Regions from separate parts of the Homo sapiens genome. Here regions 1, 2 and 3 are each linked to region 4. Evidence: promoter capture Hi-C in 16 types of primary human blood cells and fetal thymus (Javierre and others, 2016). All regions are on one chromosome and are shown on one strand. The core of a region is centred on a gene start or on the middle of the fragment in contact, and the rest is flanking DNA. Distances in the headings are between cores, read along the strand shown.

Region 1 (3,014 bases), core at 493-2,992, 650 kb before region 4:
GTCCTCAATAACTTGAATGAGTGTTGAGTGGAAAGAAGGGTATAACAGAGTGCTGGGACATGGAATAACCAAGGCCTCCTAGAATACTGGTGAGAAGGCCTCTAGGTGGAAGTGACATTTAACTGAGACTTGAAGATGAGAAGGAGCTAGCCATGTTGTTGTGGCATAAGAGGTTGTAGAGAGGAGACAGGCATGGAAGAAGATCCGGCCGAGAGATAGGATGCTCAAAGGCCTCCAGGCAGGAAAGAGCTAGGTGGTGTGTGGATTTATTGGAACTGAGAGGTCATTGTGGCTGAGCACTGTCAAGTTAAGGGAGGGTAGGACTAAATGACAGGGTGGAAATCAGGTGTCAGATCATGCAGGGCCTTTCTGGAGAAATTAACATGGAATCCTCATATGTAGCCTATTAGCCCTTTTTATGGTTTAAGAAACTGGGCATCAGGGAGATTGAATAACTTTCTGAGATTATGCAGTAGGTGAGTGGCAGCGCCTAGAATACAAAGCCAGGCTCGCAGACTCTAACGAACCTGTATCTGACCACTATGTCAAAATCAAAAGACAGTCCCTGTCCTGGTGAAGCTGTTAGTCTAGTGGGAAGACAAGCTATTGCAGTATACACATGTGCTCCTGGGGGCTGTGGGAGGAGGGAAGCCCCTAGTTCTGCCTGGGAGTGGGACAGGCCAAATTGGAAACATACAATCATTTTTCCTTTTTTATTATTGTGAAATATTTCAGATTGGCAACATCTTAATTAAGAAATAATATTAAATACAATAGCCTATTCTCTGAGTCTTCACTGTATGTTCCCCTCCTTTTTTTCTTTTTAAAGACAAAATGCTTGCTTTCACATGTACAAAGGATCTGTGTCATAATGCCCCCTTTCCTACTTTCATCAAATAAAAGATTATGTCTGGAGTAGTGTAAATTCACTTATTTTATTTTTTTGAGACAAGGTCTCGTTCTATCACCCAGGCTGGAGTACAGTGGTGCGATCATGGCTCACTGTAGCCTCTACCTCCTGGGCCCAAGTGATTCTCCCACCCCGGCCTCCCAAGTAACTGACTACAGGTGCACACTACCATGCCTGGCCAACTGTGAATTTTTTTGTAGAGAAGAGGTCTCACCATGTTGCCTAGGCTGGTCTCCAACTCCTGGCCTCAAGTGATCCTCCCACCTCAGCCTCCCAAAGTGCTGGATTACAGGCATGAGTCTGCCCTTGGCCTCGTGTTTACATTTGAGAAGTTTTTGACTTATGTATAGACCTGTGGAACTGTCTCCCTGTAGCTCCTTGCTATACCCTGAATCCCTCTTCCTCATCCAGCCAATGATAGCTTTCTGTCTCTGTGGATTAGTTTGCGTTTTTTAGAATGTTATGTAAATGGAATCATGTAGTAAGTTCTCTTCTTTGCCTGGCTTTTGCTTAGCATAATTATTTTGAGACTCATCCACATTGTATCAATAGCTGATTTCTTTTTATTGTTAAGTAATACTCCATTGTACTGATAGACGCCAGTTCATGTATCTTTTCACCCATTGATAGACATTTAGGTTGTTTCTGGTTTTGGGCTATTAAAAATAAAGCTGCCATGAACATTATACACAGTCTTTGTATGCATATCTTTCATTTCCCCTGGGTAGATGTCTAGGAGTAGAATGACTAGATCCTATGGTAGGCATATGTTTAATTTTTCAAAGAACTACTATACTTTTCCAAAGTGGTTATATAATATAACCAAAATAGTCTATGAGGGTTCCAGTTGCCCCAGATCCTTGCCAACAGTTGGGGTGGTTAGGCTTTTATAGCCATTCTGTTGGGTGTGTAGTGACACCTCATTGTGGTTTTAATTTCCATTTCCCTGATGACTAATGATGTTGAGCATCATTTCATATGCTTATTTACCATCCATTTATCTTCTTTGTTGAAGTGTCTACTCAAATTTTTTGCCCGTTTTCTTGCATTGTTTTCCTTCTTATTGAGTTTTGAGAGTTCTTTGTGTATTCTGGATGCAAGTCATTTGTCACGTGTAAGATTTGCAAATATTTCCATTCAGTCTTATCTTAGTCCATTTTGTGCTGCCATTACAGAATACCATAGATTGGGTAATTTATAATGAACAGAAATTTATTGGCTCATGGTTCTAGAATCTGGGAAGTCTAAGATTGATGGGGCGACATCTGGTGAGAGCATTTTTGCTGTATCATTACATGACAGAAGGGCAAAGAGAGGGTGAGAAAGAAGCAAAATGGAGCTGTTTTATTATTTTTATTTTATTATTTATTTATTTATTTAAGACACAGTCTCACTCTGTCACCCAGGCTGGAGTGCAGTGACACAGTCTCAGCTCACTGCAACCTCTGCCTCCTGGGTTCTAGTGATTGTGGTACCTGGGATTACAGGTGTGCGTCTCCACACCGGCCTTTTTTTTTTTTTTTTTTTTTTTTTTTTTTTTGATTTTTAGTAGAGACAGGGTTTCACTGTGTTGGCCAGGATGGTCTTGAACTCCTGGCCTCAAGTGATCTGCCCACCTTGGCCTCCCAAAGTGCTGGGATTACAGGCATGAGCCACTGCACCCAGCCTATTTTTTTTTTTGAGACAGTATCTCGCTGTGTTGCCCAGGCTGGAGTGCAGTGGCTTGATCTCAGCTCACTGCAACCTCTGCCTCCCAGGTTCAAGCGATTCTCCTGCCTTAGCCTCCTGAGTAGCTGGGACTCCAGGTGCGTGCCACCACTCTCAGCCTGATTTATTCCTTTATAAGGAACCCACTCCTGCGATGATGGCATTAATCCATTAATGACAGCAGAGCCCTTATAACCTATCACCTGATAAAAGTTCCATCTCTTAATACTGTAATATTGTAACAGTATTGCCTCTTAATAATGTTACGATGGCGATTAAATTTCACCAGAGTTTTGGAGGGGACATTTAAACCATAGCAAATTTATTACATTCTCTTAACAATATCTTTTGAAGATACTGTTCTTAATTTTGATGAAGTACAATTTGTCAATTTATT
Region 2 (2,816 bases), core at 103-2,602, 590 kb after region 4:
GGCATGTGTCTGCGGCTCCTGTTTGCTATATACTACCTAAGGTGGTTTATTTACATGCAAATTAATTGCCCATCTTTGGTCTCCAGAGCAGCCCAAGATACTCCTGTCTACTAAATCACCCTGATTCTTGGCCCTCCTCCCAGCTAAGAGCTGTGCACCAGAATTACCCACAATCCCTCTTGTTGATACAAATAAAATTCTAATTGTCTGTTTTCTTTCTGGGAGAGCCCTGCAAATCTCAAACAGCTAGAATGAAGTTGCACTTGGTTTCACGTGGACCTGCACTAAAGGGGTGGAGCTAAGTATAATCTAACACCAAAATCATCCCCACAATGCACTACCCCCTCCCATTCACTGAGCTCTGAAAGGACTCAAATGGACAAGTCTCTCGGTTGGAGGATTGTAAGTGAACTTGGCTGTAGATCATGAGCAGAAATCTTGGCTTCTCATCTGGGGAGCCAGCCAAGTTTGAGAAGTTGGCTCAACAAGGAAAGGCAGCAGTCCACTGCCTGGTAGAAAGCCTGGGCTGGGGACTGTTGTTCTCAAAGTAGTGGATGGAATTTCTGTAGTGGTTCCAGGCCCAATTTAACTAGCAGAAGAGTGGAATCTTACACCAATCCCTGCTGCCATGTCCATCCCTGAGCTACTAGTGGAGTCAATTTTAAATCTCTCAGAGACAATGGCAAGGATGTATTTTTCTCTTCCCCAAGCTTGATTTGAAAGAACAAGTTAAAAACATGCAGAACTAACAAGCCTAATTCCAGGCAACTGTGAATTAAATGTTATCACTAATGTTTTGAAAGAGCACATGAAAAACAGAAAAACCTTTACACAAGGCTGAGAATTCTCTGTGGGAAACATTTCCAAACCACAGATCCACCCAGACCAATAACACTGCCCGCGCCTCATCCCCACCCCCATTGGAGGACTAGTTTGCAGGCTTTATCACTGCCTTGTTAACTGTCTTTGCTTGCTGGCAACCCTTTTTGAGAGGGCCAAGATTTCAGAGTTGAAGAAGAAAAACTGGGTGAAGACTCCCAGTGTAAGGCATCTAATATCCTCCCCCAAATGCAAAACTGGTTTTAAAAAACAAGCCCAAACAATTGTCTTGAACAAATAAAACTCTACTCAGATGAGCCTGTACTGAGAATGATGTTCAGTAATGAAAACAAATGGTACGGAAAACCCCCTTGTGGAATTAATTAGGCCCTATTCTAGGAGACCACAGAGGTATTCTTGGACTGTACAGCAGGCTCCCAAACATCTCCCCTACACATCCTATGGTTACAGTGGCTGGATGCTGCCCACTCTTCTAGTACGCTGGATTTGTACGTCTGGATGTCTGCCAGAAAACCCTTCCTCCAGGGCATCCCTAACAGAAATACTAAGGGGCTATGCAGTGGTCCACAGATGCTCAACAGAAACTCCCGCACCAAATCACTTCCAGCTTTGACATCTCTGCCAAAGTTTTTATTCAGCCTCTCAGTTATATTTCTACCCAACTTTCCACACTGGTAGACAGAATAAAAATCTTCACCTACAATTTGTCCATCTTTGACACTACCAAGCACGTGTATCTTAAGTGTTGTTAGATGTTGAAGACAAACATTATTTTGTTAGCCAAGAAGTTGCTATGTTGGCAAGAAGTCATCTAGGCTAAGGAGGTCTGTTCAAAATTGAGGGAAATCTCTTAAAATTATTTCCTTCCAACTTACTGCAGAGAGACTGCATCTTTGTTCAAGGCATCACATCAGTCAGTAATCTTATTTCCTCCAAGTTCTAGGCAAATAGCACGGGGAAATAAATGCTTCATTATTCCAGGATGCACAAGGTTCTCCAGAACAATGCCATGTCTTACAGGCTACCTGACAGCTAACCCCACCTATAAGGGGAACCATCTCAATTCTAATACAGAAAATTCTCAGCATATAGGGAATTAGTTGCCCACTCAATATTTACTACCTTTACAAAATGTGAAGGTTGTATTTTAGAGGGAAGCTTGTGTTGCTTATGATTCTTATCAAGCTATTCTTATTAGAGACTAAGGACACGAGAATACACAGACCCAAAAATCTCATCCGAAAAGATCTATTTCTTACTTCTGATAGATAAGAACAAGATAGGATAAAGCTCAATTTCTAAGCAACTTAAAATATTCATTTTAATCAACCCAAAAATTATAACATAAAATAATAGGCAGGTAGGATGGGATAAACTCACCAAGCTCCCTAAGAGAAAGACATGGATTTCAATTTTCCAATACCTGTCCTGCTTGTAGCTGATTGCCTGGTATACATTTCCAACATTATCTAATGTATGTATTTGTTTTCAAACTTTTTTCTTTTGGTGCCTAAAATAACTGGCAAATGCTATAATCCAAACAGGGCCTCATACTATAGCCATTTCAGAGAAGGATGCCTTGGTCAGGAAATTTTAATTAAAAACCAAGCTGAATTCTTTGACCAACTATTTCACCGTTACTGGCATCTTGGAAAAATTCTTTTAGACATAAGAACAACTTTTACCCTAACACAGGCACATTTAGGAACTAACTCTGGCATTTGTTATCACTGTAAGCATCACTGTCAACACTCTAAGCAGAGAAAAAGTACATGCATTGTGCAGCACTTTTGCCATGCAACTGACTGCAGGTAAAACAGACAGTAGTTTCCTGAGTGAATTCCAATCTCGGAGGCTACCAAGCTCGTTCTCTTCTGAATATTCCTAAAGAAGCAAAGAGCTCTGAGAAGTTAAAAATATTTCATGCCAGAAAGGTCCAGAAGTGGAATTGCACAAATCTGTTTTCAAACCCCTCA
Region 3 (3,175 bases), core at 657-3,156, 630 kb before region 4:
GTCTTTTTCGTTTTGATTTGTAGGTGTATTGTTTTTGTAGTTTTCTGGAAACAGTTACTCATTAACATGCACATAAACCACATAATGACAGCTTTGCCTTTCCGATATTATTGGAGCTACATATAGCTACTCATATTTGAAAATGGGTATACTCTAATCAGACTGATGTGAAGTACATAAGTAGAATTGTCTGAGTGTTAATATGCCAGTGACTGTAGATATAAACATATTTCTTTATTTAGAATGGATATGACTTACTTTTTTTTTTGATAAAGATTAATTTCCCCATATTTCCATAGTCATGCAGGTGAAGGTGTGGACTCTACAGTACTCTAAAGTGTGAGTACTTACCTTTTTTGTTTTTTGTTTTTTTTTAGATGGAGTCTAGCTCTGTTGCCCAGGCTGGAGTATAATGGCACGATCTCGGCTCACTGTAACCTCCGCCTCCCGGGTTCAAGCGATTCTTTTGCCTCAGCCTCCCAAGTAGCTGGGAGTACAGGCGCCCAACACCACGCCTAGCCAATTTTTGTATTATAGAGATGGGGTTTCACTGTGTTAACCAGAATGGTCTTGATCTCCTGACCTCGTGATCCACCTGCCTCGGCCTCCCAAAGTGCTGGGATTACAGGCGTGAGCCACTGCACCCGGCCAAGTACTTACCTTTGTAAGAAATCATAAGATTCTCATTTTTTTCTCCATTAACTACATAAAGCAGGACAATGGTTGGCACCATTGCTTCCTCACTGAACTGTGGATGGGTCTCAGCATGCAAAGGAAGTAGAAAGTGAATGGGAGGACGGCGGCTGTTGCTCAGAAGTTCCTTCCATAATTTGATTTATTAACACTATTTGGGTTGTTCATGGCTTGGTTTTCCCTCCCTTTTTCCTCCAGTGAACGGTGACTTGACAGAGGTACATAGGAGGCTACTTGTTCTCTTGTTGGCTGCTTGTATTTGCTTTCTGGAAGGTTATTGTTTTCAAGGATCTTAAGCACCTGGATTAGGACAGTTAAAAACCATTTGTTAGCTTGGAAAATGTCATCTTCCTCTTTATCCTGCTGTCCTGGCTGTGTGCTTCCTTCTCTCCCTTCCTGTATCTCTCTTCCTTACAGATTGCTTGCATTACGTATCTATGAGATGTCCGTCTGTCAGAGTGTTTAACGTGTTGTTCATTGTAGTTCTTTAAAACCTTCTTATAGTTGCACAAAAAGACGTAAACATTTAAAAATACTTTTGGTACTGGAGGTTGCCTTTTCCTGGAGCATTGCATCTGATTTCCTTGTTATTTGTAGACTAAATCCTACTGAACGCTGTGGCTCTCCCTGCCTGCCCTCTGCTCCACTGTCTCTGCTTCTCACCTCCTGGCTCTGCAGGCCTCTTTTGTTGTTGGGAGCTAACAAAGTACCATAATTTGCTAGATGTCGCAGGAAGATGACAGGCCAAGGGGTTCCAGGAAGGATATCTATGTAACCTGCCTGAGCTCTCTTATCTTTAAAATTGCCACTAACTAGCCTTGTCTCTCTTGGGAATAGCCAGAACTTTAGAGTTAAGAATGTTGTTCAAAAGAAAGATGTTTATTTTTAGAGGCAGAAAATATTTTGAGCCTATTTGCCATAACTGCTTTTTTTTAAGAAACAAAAACTAATGGACTTTACAAGTGGGTAACCTCAAAGGGAAAACAAAAATCTTGCAAGAAGATTTAGCAATGTTTAAAAGTTTGGAAAACAAGCTTCATTAAGTAACTTTTTATGTTTGCTTAGTCAAAATTAATATTACTATAATTATTCTGAAATTCTCTTTTTCCTTGCATTTCTTGCCAAATAACCTGATTTAATGACATAGAAAATAAAAAATGTCAAAGGGGAAAAGTATTTAAAGACATTTTGTTGTTGGTACAAAGGGTGTGGTGTTATCACTAGGAGACAAGCAGAGTTCTCAGAGATGGTGTCATCTAAATTAATTTTATCTTCTTCATGATCACATGGATAAAAAAATTCAAACCTCTGATTTTTTTTTTTTAAATGGGGTGTTGCTATGTTGTCCAGGCTGGAGTGCAGTGGCTACTCACAGGTGTGATCATGGTGCACTAAGCTTTAAACCATTGGGCTCAAGTGATCCTCCTGCCTCAGCCTCCCAAGTATCTGGGACTACAGGTGTGCATCACTTTGCCAAACTTTCAAGTCTTTGATTTTTAAGGAATCCTGATTTTATTTTAGCAGGATAATTTTTACTTTATGAGGCCCAGTTTCATGTAATAATGCAGCATGTGATATAGATAAAAATCAAAGACCAGAGCTAACAGAATGGCCCTTCCTTCTCATAGCATCTTTATGAACAGTTGTGAGTAAAGGTGATTCCCAAAACCCTTTACAGATACTAAGTTCTATTTAAAGATTCACAATAACAATGACAACATTTTAGGGCTCTCTTCCAACACCATCACTTCCTCCTTCTCCTGGGAAGTTAAGCTTGGGGTGGAGGAGGTGCAGTGGTATTCCTGGACTAGCACGCCCATGCTGTTGCCTGCGTTTGTGGAAACAGAGACCTTTATGGGACACTGAGCAAGGGGATTGGTGATGTAGAAATATGTTGTTGGAGACTAACAGAATAGAAAAAAAAAATGAAGTGAGTAACACTTGTCAACCTCAGCCAGTCATGGGGGGAAATACCTTCACATATTAAACAATAACAAATAAAATGTTTGAAATGCCGATATTTATAGTAAATTGCTTTTTCTGTCTTTTGGCACGAATCTTAAGAGGTACATTTGAGGGACAACAGTGTATGGGCCGAAGGGAGGCGTCACTGCCCAGGTGGAAGAGCCTGCTCTTGCCCTCTGCAGTTCTTCAAGGTTCCCAGACCGGTGACTTGATGCGAGAAACCCCAGGGCAGAAGGGAGACTGGCCAAAGTGCATGTTGCAAGGGGTGCATCTTAAAGACCCCTCTGATTGACTTGGCTGTACTCTAGGGAGGTCTGTGGACCAGGATCACCCCAGCGATTCCAGTTTAAACTATGATGGACCTGTTTTATGAAGGTACAGGTATGAGTTTGGTGACTATGGATTGAGCTAGTTGTTTAAAACTTATTTAATCGGCTGGACGTGGTGGCTCACACTTGTAATCCTAGCACTTTGGAAGGCTGAGATGGGAGGATTGCTTGAGCCAAGGGGTTTGAGA
Region 4 (2,862 bases), core at 246-2,745:
TGTCATATCCCATCAGTGTTCTGTTCCCTATTAAGGAGTTGATGTCCGATAACGGATTCACGATTTACCCTTAACTAAAATATATCCAGATTGTTAAAGAAGACTTTGATGCCTTAACATAAGGAAGCAACCAATGCTGCAAATAATAGAGAACAGCAATGAAACTTTCAGGGGTGGCTGGGGGGTGTAGGCTTTTAGTTCCAAAAATACACCATAGGCGGCCTACCTCACCTAGAAATACCATCAAACCCACACAGTGGCCATGCCTGACTTCTCCATAACCTGAATCAAGCCAAGTATATATAATGACCTCCGCCGGATACATTCTCTACAGGTGAGTGGGGTAAACTGGCACTGCGGTCCTGGCATGGTGGAGAGTGCAATCACCAAGGTGTCTGGAGCCTTGGAGTCTTAGCTATCAAGAGGTGTAGCTAGCTCCAGCTACATCACGCTCTTCAGGCCTGGTGTCTTCTCTGTAAAACGAGAGGGATGAAACAGATTTTCTATAAGGCACCTCTCGGCTCTAAAATTTAAGATTCCAAAGTGTACTTTACATACATGACAGAATCTTGTGAGAGGATCAACAGCTCTGCCAGGACTTGAGTCTCAAGAGAAAGAATGCCAAATTTAATCCCTTGGGGTGATGCGGGCGCTAACTGTTGAAACATGCTAGGTGCCGTCAGGTTCCAGGTACTACGTTGTGCTATGCGCTGCCTCCGCAACTGGTAACAACTGATTACTCCAAATACTGAGTGCCAGAGAAGACGGTGATAAGATGGGTCAAGCTTCAAAAAGAAAAACCGGATATGCTTAGAACAAGATAAACATAATTTGAAGATAGAAAAGGGGGGGATGTCTTCTTGCCCTAGAAACGAGGTAATCACAAGCTGGGAGTGGAAACAGTAGCCGCAGCGTCCTCCCAGCATCTGGAAAGTCGCCCGCTCGTAAGAGGGGTCGGCGCTACCCGAGGGAGGCCGCAGGCCTACTGGGGTTTCCTGCTGGGGGTCGCACCCGGACCCGCGGCCGGGACGGCTCTGCACCTTCGCGGCACCCCGTGTGCCACCCTGAATCAGGCCCCGGCAGCCGCTCCTACGAGCAGCAAAGGGTGGTTCTGGGTATTGTCGGCCCAGCGCTCACTCGCGGATGTATTTTCCTCCTGTGCCCTGCCTGACATCTCAATCGGACCAAAAACACCCCTCTCCCCAGCTACTTGCATCTGTCCCGCGACTGGTGCAGCTGCAGGCCGCCGCCCTGGGTGGCTCGCGGCAGGAGGGACTGAGCCCGGGGCAGCCCACAGGGGCAGGACCGCGTCGCTTACCCAGATGCCGCCGCGGCGGCAGGCCGACTCCTCCGTGCAGGAGGGGCGGGCTCCCAAGCCGCGCACTGCAAGCAGTGGCGCCGGCTCACGCACCCCTCGGCCGCCTCTCGCGCGGCTTCCCGCGCCGGCAGCCCGCGATGGCCCCACGTGACCGCGTGTCTGGTAGCAGGGGAAAGAGGGGCGCCAGGGCCGGGGTGTGCGTGCGTGCGTGCGTGCGTACGTGCGCGCCCTCCCGCCCGCCCGCCTCAGTGGCCGGGCGGGGGTCGGCCCGCGCTCTGAGTGCCGCCGCCACAGTTCGCAGTTGTGACTCTGTAGGCGGAAGCATAGGGACAAGCCTGAGCGTCACAGGCTCCCCACAAACAACCGCGTGACCCGGGGACTTTCCCCAGGGTGTGCAAAAGCACAGGCACCCCCTCAGTTCTGGGGTGAAGGTGGGGGTGGGGAAGGATGCGCCCGCGTGTTCGCTGGGGAAGGGATGAGGGCGCGGGGCCAGGGAGGCCGAGCCGCGGGAGCCTGGGTGGAGAGGCGGACTGGGCGAGGTGGGGCATGGCGGGGGAAGTGACTCAGGGCCAGAGGCAGCAGGCCCACGGAAGGTGGGGTCGGGGGGGCGCGGGGACTGGGCGACCCTGAACCGACGGGGCAGGGCGAGGTTGCCGGAGCACTCGAGGCGGACCGCGAGTGACGGCCCAGCTGCTGGGCCCAACGGGCAGGGGTCTGACATCTGGACGGAGTGGGAAAGCAGCCTCGCATCCTGCCCTGGGGAGTCGGGAGGAGCCCAGTTCCATCCAGCTGTGCAAACAGGAGGAGGAGGAGGTCCCAAGCCTACCCTTGAGAGGGGCAAGAGGGGTGGTCAAGCCGCCGCCGCCGCGACGGCCCCCGCGGTGCGGGTTGCGCCAGCCTCCTCGGAGCTCGACGCAGAAACTTGTTGCAACAAACAGGCGACCGCGGGTGCCCCTAGCAGCCAGCGGCAGAGTGGGTGGGCGGGCGAGAGGGAGGGGAAGGCTGGCGGACGCCGCAGCGAACTGGTGGGCAGACCCGGAGTCGCCGCGTAAGCGGGGCCGGCTCAGTGCGGTGCGGCAGGCGCGGCTGTGCGGCAGCGGAAGTCCTTTGTTGCAGCACAGTCCCTGGCAGAGCCAGAGCCTCTCCGCGCAGCCCAGCCCGAGCGCCGAGCGCCGCGCGCCGCCGCCACTGCAGCTCGCGGCCCCTTCGCCTTCGCCCGCCTTTCCCGCGGCTGATTTGCCTTAAACTCCCTAAAATCTCCGCAGCTCTGGTTCCTGTTGCGGCCGGTAAGTATTTGCCAGTTGTGGGGCTATTTGCGCAACTTTGGCCCAGGCCGGAGGGCGACGGGCCGCGGGCCTGGCGGAGTGCGGGGCCGGAGGGGCGCCGATCCGTGCGGGGAGCCGGAGCGCGGCGGACGCGCTGCGAGGACCCGGTGACGGGCGGCTGCCAGGCCGCCTGCTTGTTGCCGGCGCGTCAGGTCCCGGGCGTGCGGCCTCCCTGAGTCGGAGGCGAAGCCCCTACGGAGACTAGTTCCCAAATTAGTT

The links. The method cuts DNA at HindIII sites, captures the fragments that hold promoters and counts their contacts. A CHiCAGO score of 5 or more calls a contact.
Region 1: a fragment that was not itself captured here is called in contact with the fragment with the promoter of ZBTB25 in region 4 in 1 of 17 cell types (fetal thymus); the score reaches 6.8 in fetal thymus.
Region 2: a contact is called between a fragment that was not itself captured here and the fragment with the promoter of ZBTB25 in region 4, in 3 of 17 cell types (monocytes, total CD8 T cells and neutrophils). The highest score is 7.2, in monocytes.
Region 3: a fragment that was not itself captured here is called in contact with the fragment with the promoter of ZBTB25 in region 4 in 1 of 17 cell types (naive CD4 T cells); the score reaches 5.4 in naive CD4 T cells.

What each region holds. Positions count from the first base shown.
Region 1 is chr14:63,855,845-63,858,858 of GRCh38, forward strand. All of the region lies in intron 1 of SYNE2 (spectrin repeat containing nuclear envelope protein 2), which reads left to right. Among named protein-coding and RNA genes, the nearest start is that of SYNE2, 4.3 kb to the left of the region's middle. The HindIII fragment of the contact is 5,881 bases long and covers 1-3,014 here.
Region 2 is chr14:65,095,629-65,098,444 of GRCh38, forward strand. All of the region lies in intron 2 of MAX (MYC associated factor X), which reads right to left. Among named protein-coding and RNA genes, the nearest start is that of MAX, 5.5 kb to the right of the region's middle. The HindIII fragment of the contact is 1,288 bases long and covers 709-1,996 here.
Region 3 is chr14:63,873,040-63,876,214 of GRCh38, forward strand. All of the region lies in intron 1 of SYNE2 (spectrin repeat containing nuclear envelope protein 2), which reads left to right. Among named protein-coding and RNA genes, the nearest start is that of SYNE2, 22 kb to the left of the region's middle. The HindIII fragment of the contact is 362 bases long and covers 1,726-2,087 here.
Region 4 is chr14:64,502,343-64,505,204 of GRCh38, forward strand. It overlaps ZBTB25 (zinc finger and BTB domain containing 25), which reads right to left and starts at 1,496. Exons shown (of 3, transcript NM_006977.5): 1 at 1,319-1,496. ZBTB1 (zinc finger and BTB domain containing 1) reads left to right here and starts at 2,428. Exons shown (of 2, transcript NM_001123329.2): 1 at 2,428-2,604. RefSeq lists enhancers at 628-747, 808-907, 1,678-1,767, 1,868-2,538 and silencers at 1,228-1,657, 2,258-2,517, 2,628-2,737. The HindIII fragment of the contact is 6,379 bases long and covers 784-2,862 here.